Regions from separate parts of the Homo sapiens genome. Here region 2 is linked to region 1. The links are contacts of gene promoters, found by promoter capture Hi-C in blood cells and fetal thymus (Javierre and others, 2016). All regions are on one chromosome and are shown on one strand. The core of a region is centred on a gene start or on the middle of the fragment in contact, and the rest is flanking DNA. Distances in the headings are between cores, read along the strand shown. Region 1 holds the start of FRMD4A-AS2 (FRMD4A antisense RNA 2). Region 2 overlaps FRMD4A (FERM domain containing 4A).

Region 1 (4,598 bases), core at 1,530-4,029:
CCTACCTACCTGAAACAAAGATGAAAAAGAAAAATAACCTATGAGCATGGACGTCAGAGAGGATACTTTAGATCCTCGACCTCAAAATGCCCTTTATAGGCTCCAGCCTCAGCAACTACACGGGAACTTGGAGGAATGCAGACTGCATCTGCATTTAGTAAAACCCCCAGATGATTCCATTATAAACTGACGCTTGAGAAGGTGTGCTTTAGGACAGTGATTTTCAGTAACTTTTTTTTTTTGTCAATTATGGAAATCTTTTCCCAAATGAAATATTTGGTGGGGACATAAGAAATATCTTAGAAGCAGAGCTCTGGTTGACCAGGGGTGAGGGGGGTCTCAGTCTTCCAGCCCCCTAGTGGCACCTCCCATCCCACACTGCGTCTTAGCGGTAGTGGCTCCTGCTTCTGAGTGGGTATCAGGGGTCCTGGTGTTTTTGATTATGTTGCACCCTAACACCTACCAGCCCAGAGGCTACCATGTTGATTCTTCTGAACAAAGAAGCCCTGGCATATTATGGATGCTCAGGTGATATTAGATGATCATTAGTAATTGATTTTTTTTTCTTTTTTTTGAGACGGCGCCTCGCTCTGTCGCCAGGCTGGAGTGTAGTGGCGCCATCTTGGCTCACTGCAACTTCCGCCTCCCGGGTTCAAGCGATTCTCCTGACTCAGCCTCCCACCACGCCCAACTAATTTTTGTATTTTTAGTAGAGATGGGGTTTCACCATGTTGGCCAAGAAGATCTCAATCTCTTGACCTCGTGATCCACCCACCTTGGCCTCCCAAAGTGCTGGGATTAGAGGCGTGAGCCAACGCGCCCAGCCAATAATTGATTTTAAATAAGAATACATGGACAGGTACAGCTCAGTTGTTCCAGAGATGGGCATCAGAGGGGAAATGGAAGCAGGGAGACAGCCTATTGATGATGAGAGGAAGACAAGACAGAGGGCAGAGAGATGGGAGTGGCCCTATAGTTAAGAGTTGCCAGATAAAATACAGGACACCCAGTTACATTTGAATTTCAGACAAACTCCATGGAACATGCTTAGATGAAAGAATGATTCATTGTTTATTGAAATTTGATGTAACTGGGCATCCTGTATTTTCATTTGCTGAATCTGGCAACCAGACCTAGAGTTCCTTTCTAAAGGGACACTTTTCTCAGCAGCTTGGATTCCAAGGGTCTCACTCTAGGTTAGACCCCCATTTAGATTCGCTCTGGAGAGTTTTCTGAAGTCAGACTACCTGGGTTCAAACCCTGGATCTGCCACTGCTGGCTGCGTAACCCTGGACAAATGACTTAATCTCTCTCTATTCTCTGTTTTCCTATTCTAGAAAGTGGGGTTAGGAATAAGAGCCAACCTCAAAGGGCTGCTCTGAGGATCAGAGGAGAAAACAGCTGCATAGATTAAGCACATAGAAAGAGCTCATTAAAGGTACTTTCTATTCTTGGCTGTGCTTCTGGGTCTCAGTAACTTCCCTCTCTGCCTGGATTTGCTCCTGGCCATTTTCTTGGAGAGTGAGACCCATCCAGAGGGGAATGTGGGACAAGGAGGGAGGAGGAAGTAAGGACTGAGAAGGCCCAGAGACGTGCCTTCCTCTTCTTTCCAGGGTCCTGGCCTGTCTTGTCTGTTGGGCGGGTATGCTTCCTTCCTGGCCTTCCTTGTGGAGCATGTCTGGGAGTGTGCTAGGAAATGAGGGAGGAAAATATGTAACTTGATATCTGCTCCTTGACCCTGGCTGACCTGGTTAACTCTCTCCAGGATGGAAGCAAAGCCTGCCCGGGAAACCTTCCATTGCAGGAACATCTCGGCCTGAAGCTGTCATCAGGGAGCAGGATCTGCTTCCCGGACTCTGAGCAGAACAATGGGAGCCCCAGCAGGCTGGCGAGGCTGACAAGCCCTAGGACGGTGACCTCTCCGATCTCCAGATCGGAAACTCAGAAACGTGTAAGTGCCAGAATCCGCATTTGGGAATCTGTTATTTCTCCCTCTGCGAGTCAACCTGATCACCCTGGAAGCCTCACTGTCTCTCAGCCCTTGTTCCCATTTTTCTTTCCATGAACACCGCAATCAGATACGAGATTCCAGTAATGATGGTTCTTGAAAATTAAACAAATCAAAAAGAAAGCCAGCCAAGGTATGGAGTGGGGGACCTCTAAGTTCCCCTGGAGGAGACACTGGGGCCAGGTTCCGAGGTGCATTCGGAGCCAGAATCCCTAATGGAATTGAACAATTATCCTGAAGCTGCTCTCTGAAAGCCGCGGTTTTCCTAAAACACTGTGCTTGGCGTGCCTGGGCTTCTTGGCACTGGCCCATGACCCACAGCAGCAAATCGTTCCCAGGAAGCTATTGTTATTTGTGTATCTGATAGCATTCAGCTGAGTACACTGACAGCAACATTTAGAAAGGAAAAGAAAAAAGAAGCGTAGAGTGAAAAGGACAAAAAGGAGGCTTCCAACATCCTGGTGGGAACAGAAAACCAGCAAAGCCTCTTTTCCAGCCCTTATCCTTGTGAGTTTGGACTCTGCAGAACTGTCATCCCCCAGGCATAGCTGCAGCTTGTATGAAGGTGGGCATCAGGCGCGGAGATTCAGGACAGTGTGCACCTGCTTTCCTCCAACGGGACCCCCTCTGTTCTTCCCAGGAATGCCTGTAAACTGCCACTGCCTCTAGGGGCTGCACCAAGTCCCTGTGTACTCCCAGGACACAATGGAGTGGAATGGAGTGGCTCTGTTCTGTCAGGGCCTAACATTCCAAATGAATTCATTCCCTTCTGGGAAAAAAGAACCACCTTGCTCAGAGCACAATGTTCCCATGTCTTGGCTTACCTTGAAGCATTTTTGATACACCTGTTGGGACAATGCGTTCTGCCAAGAGAAGGGAAGTAGCATACTTTGTTCTATTTTTTACTCTCAATGGGCTACGTTTCCATTGTGTTGGTTTCCCTTACAGAAAGTAACACACACAGAAGAGAAGGTTATAGGATTCCATGCTGCTTGGCAAAGGCACAAAATATGTGCACATATTTACATGGAATATGAGGGTAAACTAGAAAATTAAGGGTAATCTAAAATAGAAAAAAAGAAGAAAACAATAAGTTAAAAGTATGAAAAGACATCCAGAATGAGCAAGTTACTGAGGTTGTGCCTCAACTTTAGCTTGAGTTTCCTGGCAGCAAAGGTAAAAAGGTAAGTACATTGAATCACATACTTCTTATTATCTTCTAAAAGGAATTAACGGAGTGGAATATATAAAAAGCACTGAATAACATAAGGAACAAGATCTTCAATGGTCATTTTGAAAAAGCCTCAGAAGCGTGCTTATAGATGTTTCTTCTGCTGGCTTTCTCAGCAAGATGATACTAAGATACCATCCTAACCACCTCATCTCTGCCTATAGCCCAGGCTATGCCTAGACATGCCTGGAGCTATGCCAGTGGTTCAAGGGGTTTCTACAAACACTTGCTTCTACCTTTGCTTTAAATTGGTTTCTTCTCCTCTGATTTCTCTGGTCTCCACCTGTTTCTTGATTCTCCAGCTATATTTGACACATCTAACCGGATTCATGAGTCTTTAGCCTGTCTGTGGGTTGGCTTGCAGGCTCACTGACCCCAGCAAACTCCCATGCCTGGCCTTGGGTCCTGCCCACCCACCTCCATGTCCTGCCTAAGTCTCGGGTCACATGGCCAGCCCCAGTCCAGGCCAAGAATAGGTTGCTGCTCATTCAAAACAAAATGACACTAAACATCAGCCCTCAATAGAGAGGAATTAAATCTTAACTTTGTAAAATAATTTCAGCAGGGAGTTGAGAAAATACAGCATAACTATGTTGATATTTGATTATTTAATTTAATAAAGATCTAGTGTAGGCCAGGCATGGTGGCTCGCACCTGTAATCCCAGCACTTTGGGAGGCCAAGACACGCGGATCACCTGAGGTCAGGAGTTCAAGACCAGCTTGACCAAATGGTGAAACCCTGTCTCTACTAAAAATACAAAAATTAGCCAGGCATGGTGGCGCATGCCTGTAATCCCAGCTACTTGGGAGGCTGAGGCAGGAGGATCGCTTGACCCCCGGTGGCAGAGGTTGCAGTGTGCCAAGATTGTGCCATTGCACTCCAGCCTGGGCAATAGAGTGAGACTCTGTCTCAAAAAAAAAAAAAAAAAAAAAAAAAAGGATTTAGTGTAAAGAGATTAAAGTAATGACTAGCCAACATATCCATTGATCTGCTTCTCTTGCGTGTCCTATGTCCCTACAAAACTTTGGGCTAAGTGCTAGAAGGTAGTGAATTCAAAGTTGCCTTATCCGGCAAGAGACAGTGAGGACATCCTGAGTTTAAAACTGAAGAGTTGCATCTCTGCTGTGGATGTGACAAGTGTGAGCTGCTGTTTAGAAGGGACAATGGAGAAGCCTGACTTGCCTCCTCCCCCAGCAGGGACATCATTCTATTTGACATCGTGGTGAGATCCAGAGTTCCTCAGGGTTTAGCCAACGTTTCCATCAGAAAAGGAGCTGTGAATCCATTCAAGTTCTTGCTCAAGGACTTGGCTGGGACCCCAGAATTCCACTCCATCTAGCATGAAAGAGATGATTTA
Region 2 (4,399 bases), core at 346-2,845, 340 kb before region 1:
CATTTCCTCCTGAGAACTAGGTTAACAGGAGGAGGAAGCAGAGCTAGAGATGGAAGGAGACCCAGCCAGCCCGGGCTCCAGTGACATCGGCTGGTACACGCTTTTGTTTGCTTACGCTTGTTGAACTGAGTTTTTCATATGTAACTAACGAATACTGGCACATGTAAGTAGTTTCTTAAACTGTTGATGAAATTTTTGTTTCTAACACAAACATGATCTGGGTCTGTTTGGGATAAAACTTCCCTAAGGGGTTTCATGAGATCTTAGGAACACTTAGCCAGTGTTTCCCAAAGTAGTCCTGTGAGTTGCTCTGAGGGGAAAAAAAGCTTCCATGGATAAATAAATTTGAGGATTCTGCCTTTCAGAGGCCTGAAATGTAAATGTATATGAAACATATATTAAAGGTTCTGAGAAGTCCTGGATTAGTTTGCCACAGAACTTCTGGAACAGTATCACCTATTAACATCCACAGAACACACTTTGAAAAATACTCTTAAATGGGCTAATATTATGAAATGTAGTTGACTCTCTTGTATGTTGGATCCTAAACAGTTTCTGGTTGAAACTATTAAAGTTGAGTCATAATTGTGACAACATAATCTGCTTCAGAGGGACTAAAAGTGCACTATGTATTGATCATAAAGGCTCAAGAAAGACCATTGAGTTCAAAGCAGTGATGTTTGGATCAGGCAGTAGATGAGGTTAAGGGTTCCTGTGGTGGTTTATTTGGTATGTGAAGAGCCTAACTGTTGGCTGGCCCATGGTGTTCTCCTGTGGTTCATTATGGAGGCTTCTGGGTCACAGAACCCACATATGAGAGGGCATCGGGAGGATCTGGATGATGGGGTGGGAGATGCTGGATTGGTGGTTTGGTTCTCAGGTGGCTCCTAGAGGAGCCGCAGTATGGAAACCACTGGCCTGCTCCTGCCTCTGAGAAAATGAAGCTGGAGGAAAAGATGTAAAGATGTATTTTTTCCAAACTTGCGATGTTTTATACAGAATCTTTCTTAGTGCTTCCACATAGTTATTGAAGTACGTAAGGTATTTTTAAAGCTATAAATGTTGCTTCATGTATTGGTCTTTTATTCTCAAGTCTGGGGAAGAGACCCTTGTTCTGGCTGCTCAGCTAAGCCTTTGCCTTTCAGTACAAATTCAATTTTCCGGTAGTAGTCAAGGAATGCCATGTGCTACGAAAGAGACCCTTAGGAAGCATTTATTCTTCACAAATAATACAAATGGGGCCACTAAATAGTTGCCCTAGTAAAAACCTAAAAACCTAAGTCAGTCATTCACTGGAACATGAGCTGGGGCAGGATGAAGATCTAGGTGTGCTCTCTCAACTGTGACCCAGAAGAGCAGCTTAGCCCTGGGCAGTCTGGGTCACAGCAAGTGGTGACTTCAGAATCTGTGGGGGCTTTCCACTGCAAGAATGCCCTTTCCCAGGGCTATGCTCAGAGATGTGTGGCCTGCAAAGGGTACTGGCTAAGCCAGGGCCGTCTGATACCAGACAGATGGCAAATTCACCCACATCTCACAGGGTTTTGTGGTTTATAACTGCTTGGCATAGGGAGGTGGGGCTGCTGGGAGGGAGGAATTTCAAACTGAATTATTTTTTTAAACGTATAACTAACTTACAGAACCAACTGGTGGCACATACTGGGGTTGTTGAACAGTCCCACAGTTGGTCACAAGGCCAGAGGATAGGGGATGAGGCCCTCTAGAGGCATCCTGTCTTACCTGGTCTGGGAAGGTGCTGTTGCTCAGTATAATGTATGTGTGTCCCTGCATGTGCACATGTATGCATGAGCATGAACTCGTGTATGTATTCGTGTATGTATGTAGGTATTTCAAGCAGTGCCTACATTCCCACCGCAGCTCTTTCAAACCTGGTTAATTCTACTTCTGGCTGTCAGCCCTATCTCCATCACCTTTAGCAGATGATCGCCCTCCCATACCGGGGGAGAAAAAGGCCATTCTTCCTACTTCAAAAATACTGCTCTCATGACATCACCCTGGCACTGGGGCTGGGGGAGGGGGTCTACCTTCCTTCCAAAGCCTAAGTCCCTGTCCTAATTGCCCATCTGTCAACTTTGCAATATTGTCCTAACTTACTTTTCAAAAGTCCAGTTTTTTCTCTACAGGAAACAAGACTCTCTACTGTTAACCACCCCTCACCCTTATCTGTGCATCCATGTTTTTGCACTTGGGATGGTCTCTGTCTCCACCTGTCTAAGCCCCCTCCTCCCACGGCAGGCTTCTGAGCCAGGCTCACATAACATCTCCGTGAACTCGAAAGTGACCCCCTCATTTCTGAATCCTCTCAGCATTGCATTTTGTTTCTAAGTCTTAGAGCACTTAATACATAAGTGTAGCAGTTTCTCATGCTCCTTGTATATCTTCTGATAGGCAATTTGATTTCAAGCCCTTGTGTCCCAGTTAGACTGTAAGGGTCCTGGGGCTAGGAACCAGACCAGGTGGTACTGTTATCTGCCCCTGTGCTTTGCAGATTTCGACGTGAATCTTGTTAAATGCACATTAGGTTCAGTAGGCCAGGGTGGTGCCCGGGAGACTAGCTTTCTAACGAGCTCCCAGGTGATGGTGGTAGTGATAAAAATGTTGGCTTATGGACATTTGGAAAAGCAGTGCTCATAGCTTTTGGTACTCAGCACAGCTGTTACTCAAGAATGCTGGGGGTGCTTCTGGAGCCACTGAGTCGGCCCTTGGTGCTTTGAAACTTACATTGCAGTGATGCTGTTCTTTTCAGGGACACTGATTACTCACAGTAAAATGTCTACAAATCTTTGAATGTAGATAGAACATGGTGAGTCTAAAATATACTTTGGGGCCAGGCGCACAGATCACTTAAAGCTTAAAGTCAGGAGTTTGAGACTATCCTGGCCAACATGGCAAAACCCCGTGTCTACTAAAAATACAAAAATTAGCCACGCATGCACCTGTAGCTACTAGGGAGCCAGGAGAATCGCTTGAACCTGGGAGGCAGAGGTTGCAGTGAGCCGAGATCATGCCACTGCACTCCAGCCTGGGCAACAGAACAAGACTCTGTCTCAAAACAAAACATACTCTGGGGGTCTTTTCTGGGAAGCAGTGTTAGGAATATCATAATTTTGATGTAAGAACCTTCAGCTAAAAACATAGTTCCAGTTCCCCATGTATCTAGAAATAAGGCATAAATACAGCATTCAGATGTATCCTTGTGGAAATGATGACATGGACAAAAGCAACACATGTGGGACCACAGACTCATGGGCAGTAGGAACAAAACTCCCCTTACGGTACCTCTATTCATCAGTACTTTGGTGAGGTGGAGACTCAGACCCATCCAGAATGGGTGAGTTTTCTGTTGCTTCTCTGAACAAAGGAAAGCAGGAGGAGGAAGAGAAGAGAGGTCATGTTACAGAGAGACACTGACACAGACACAGACACGATTAGTAGCTTATTAATATATCCGAAAGGCTTGCTGATTAGACACCTGAGTTAGCAACAGATCATACAAGTCATGCAGTACTTTCAGTCCCCATAATTGAGTCAAAATACCTAGTTTGTTAGGAGGGACGGGCCCTCTTTTACCCATGGCCTCATTTTGTATCACATCATAGCAAACAGTTTATGCCAAGAACCAAAATTGCTGTTTTTCAAATTTGGCTTGAGTCCTCACTAGTTGTAGGTGGTGAAATAGGCAGGTTTCAAGACCATCTTAAGTGCATAGGACCCTGAGGAGGGCTTGTACATTTCGGAGCCTGTTGACAGCCAAATAATACAATCAATCATATATTTGGATCAGGTGAGACTGGGCATGATTCAGAAAAGTTGGAAGATCTAGAGAGGGATCTTGCAATCTGAAGTTTCTTGTTTAGTCACTGGAGGTATGTATTACATATATGAAAGATGTGTCATTCTTTTATGAGTTAATCTTAGACCCCAAACCTTGCAGAGGCTGCCTGGCCAAACAGGTGAGAGCTGGGGTGTGGGTGGGTGAGTGTTAATGATCTAAAGGACAAAGGGGCAGCTACTGTCCAACAGACAGCCCAAGAAGTAGGAGCAGACACAGGAACACCGAGCTGGGGCTCCAGTTTCTCTTATTTTAAAAGGAATCAGAGGCAGCAGGGGATCGTTCAGTGGTTGTCAAAACTTGAGTGTGGGTCAGCATCACCTGGAGGGCTTATCAGAATGCAGCCTGCTGGGCTCACCCCCAGAGTTTTGGATTTTTTTTGTGTTACAGGTAAGCCCGAGAATTTGCATTTCTGACAAGATCCCAGGTGAGGCTCACTCGTGCTGCTGGCTTTGGGATCACACTTAACTACCGGTATAGTGGGGAAAGACAGGGTTTGGGGTCACAGAGGGCAGAGCTGGAATTCCAGCTCCCTCCAGCTGTCAGACT

Evidence for each region. The method cuts DNA at HindIII sites, captures the fragments that hold promoters and counts their contacts. A CHiCAGO score of 5 or more calls a contact.
Region 2: a fragment that was not itself captured here is called in contact with the fragment with the promoter of FRMD4A-AS2 in region 1 in 2 of 17 cell types (total B cells and M0 macrophages); the score reaches 5.5 in total B cells.

What each region holds. Positions count from the first base shown.
Region 1 is chr10:13,988,801-13,993,398 of GRCh38, forward strand. FRMD4A-AS2 (FRMD4A antisense RNA 2) reads left to right here and starts at 2,780. Exons shown (of 3, transcript NR_199003.1): 1 at 2,780-3,192. All of the region lies in intron 2 of FRMD4A (FERM domain containing 4A), which reads right to left. The HindIII fragment of the contact is 11,405 bases long and covers 1-4,598 here.
Region 2 is chr10:13,648,606-13,653,004 of GRCh38, forward strand. It overlaps FRMD4A (FERM domain containing 4A), which reads right to left. Exons shown (of 25, transcript NM_018027.5): 24 at 3,298-3,369. The coding sequence ends at 3,300. It also overlaps a transcript of PRPF18 not described here. Among named protein-coding and RNA genes, the nearest start is that of PRPF18, 64 kb to the left of the region's middle. The HindIII fragment of the contact is 2,542 bases long and covers 325-2,866 here.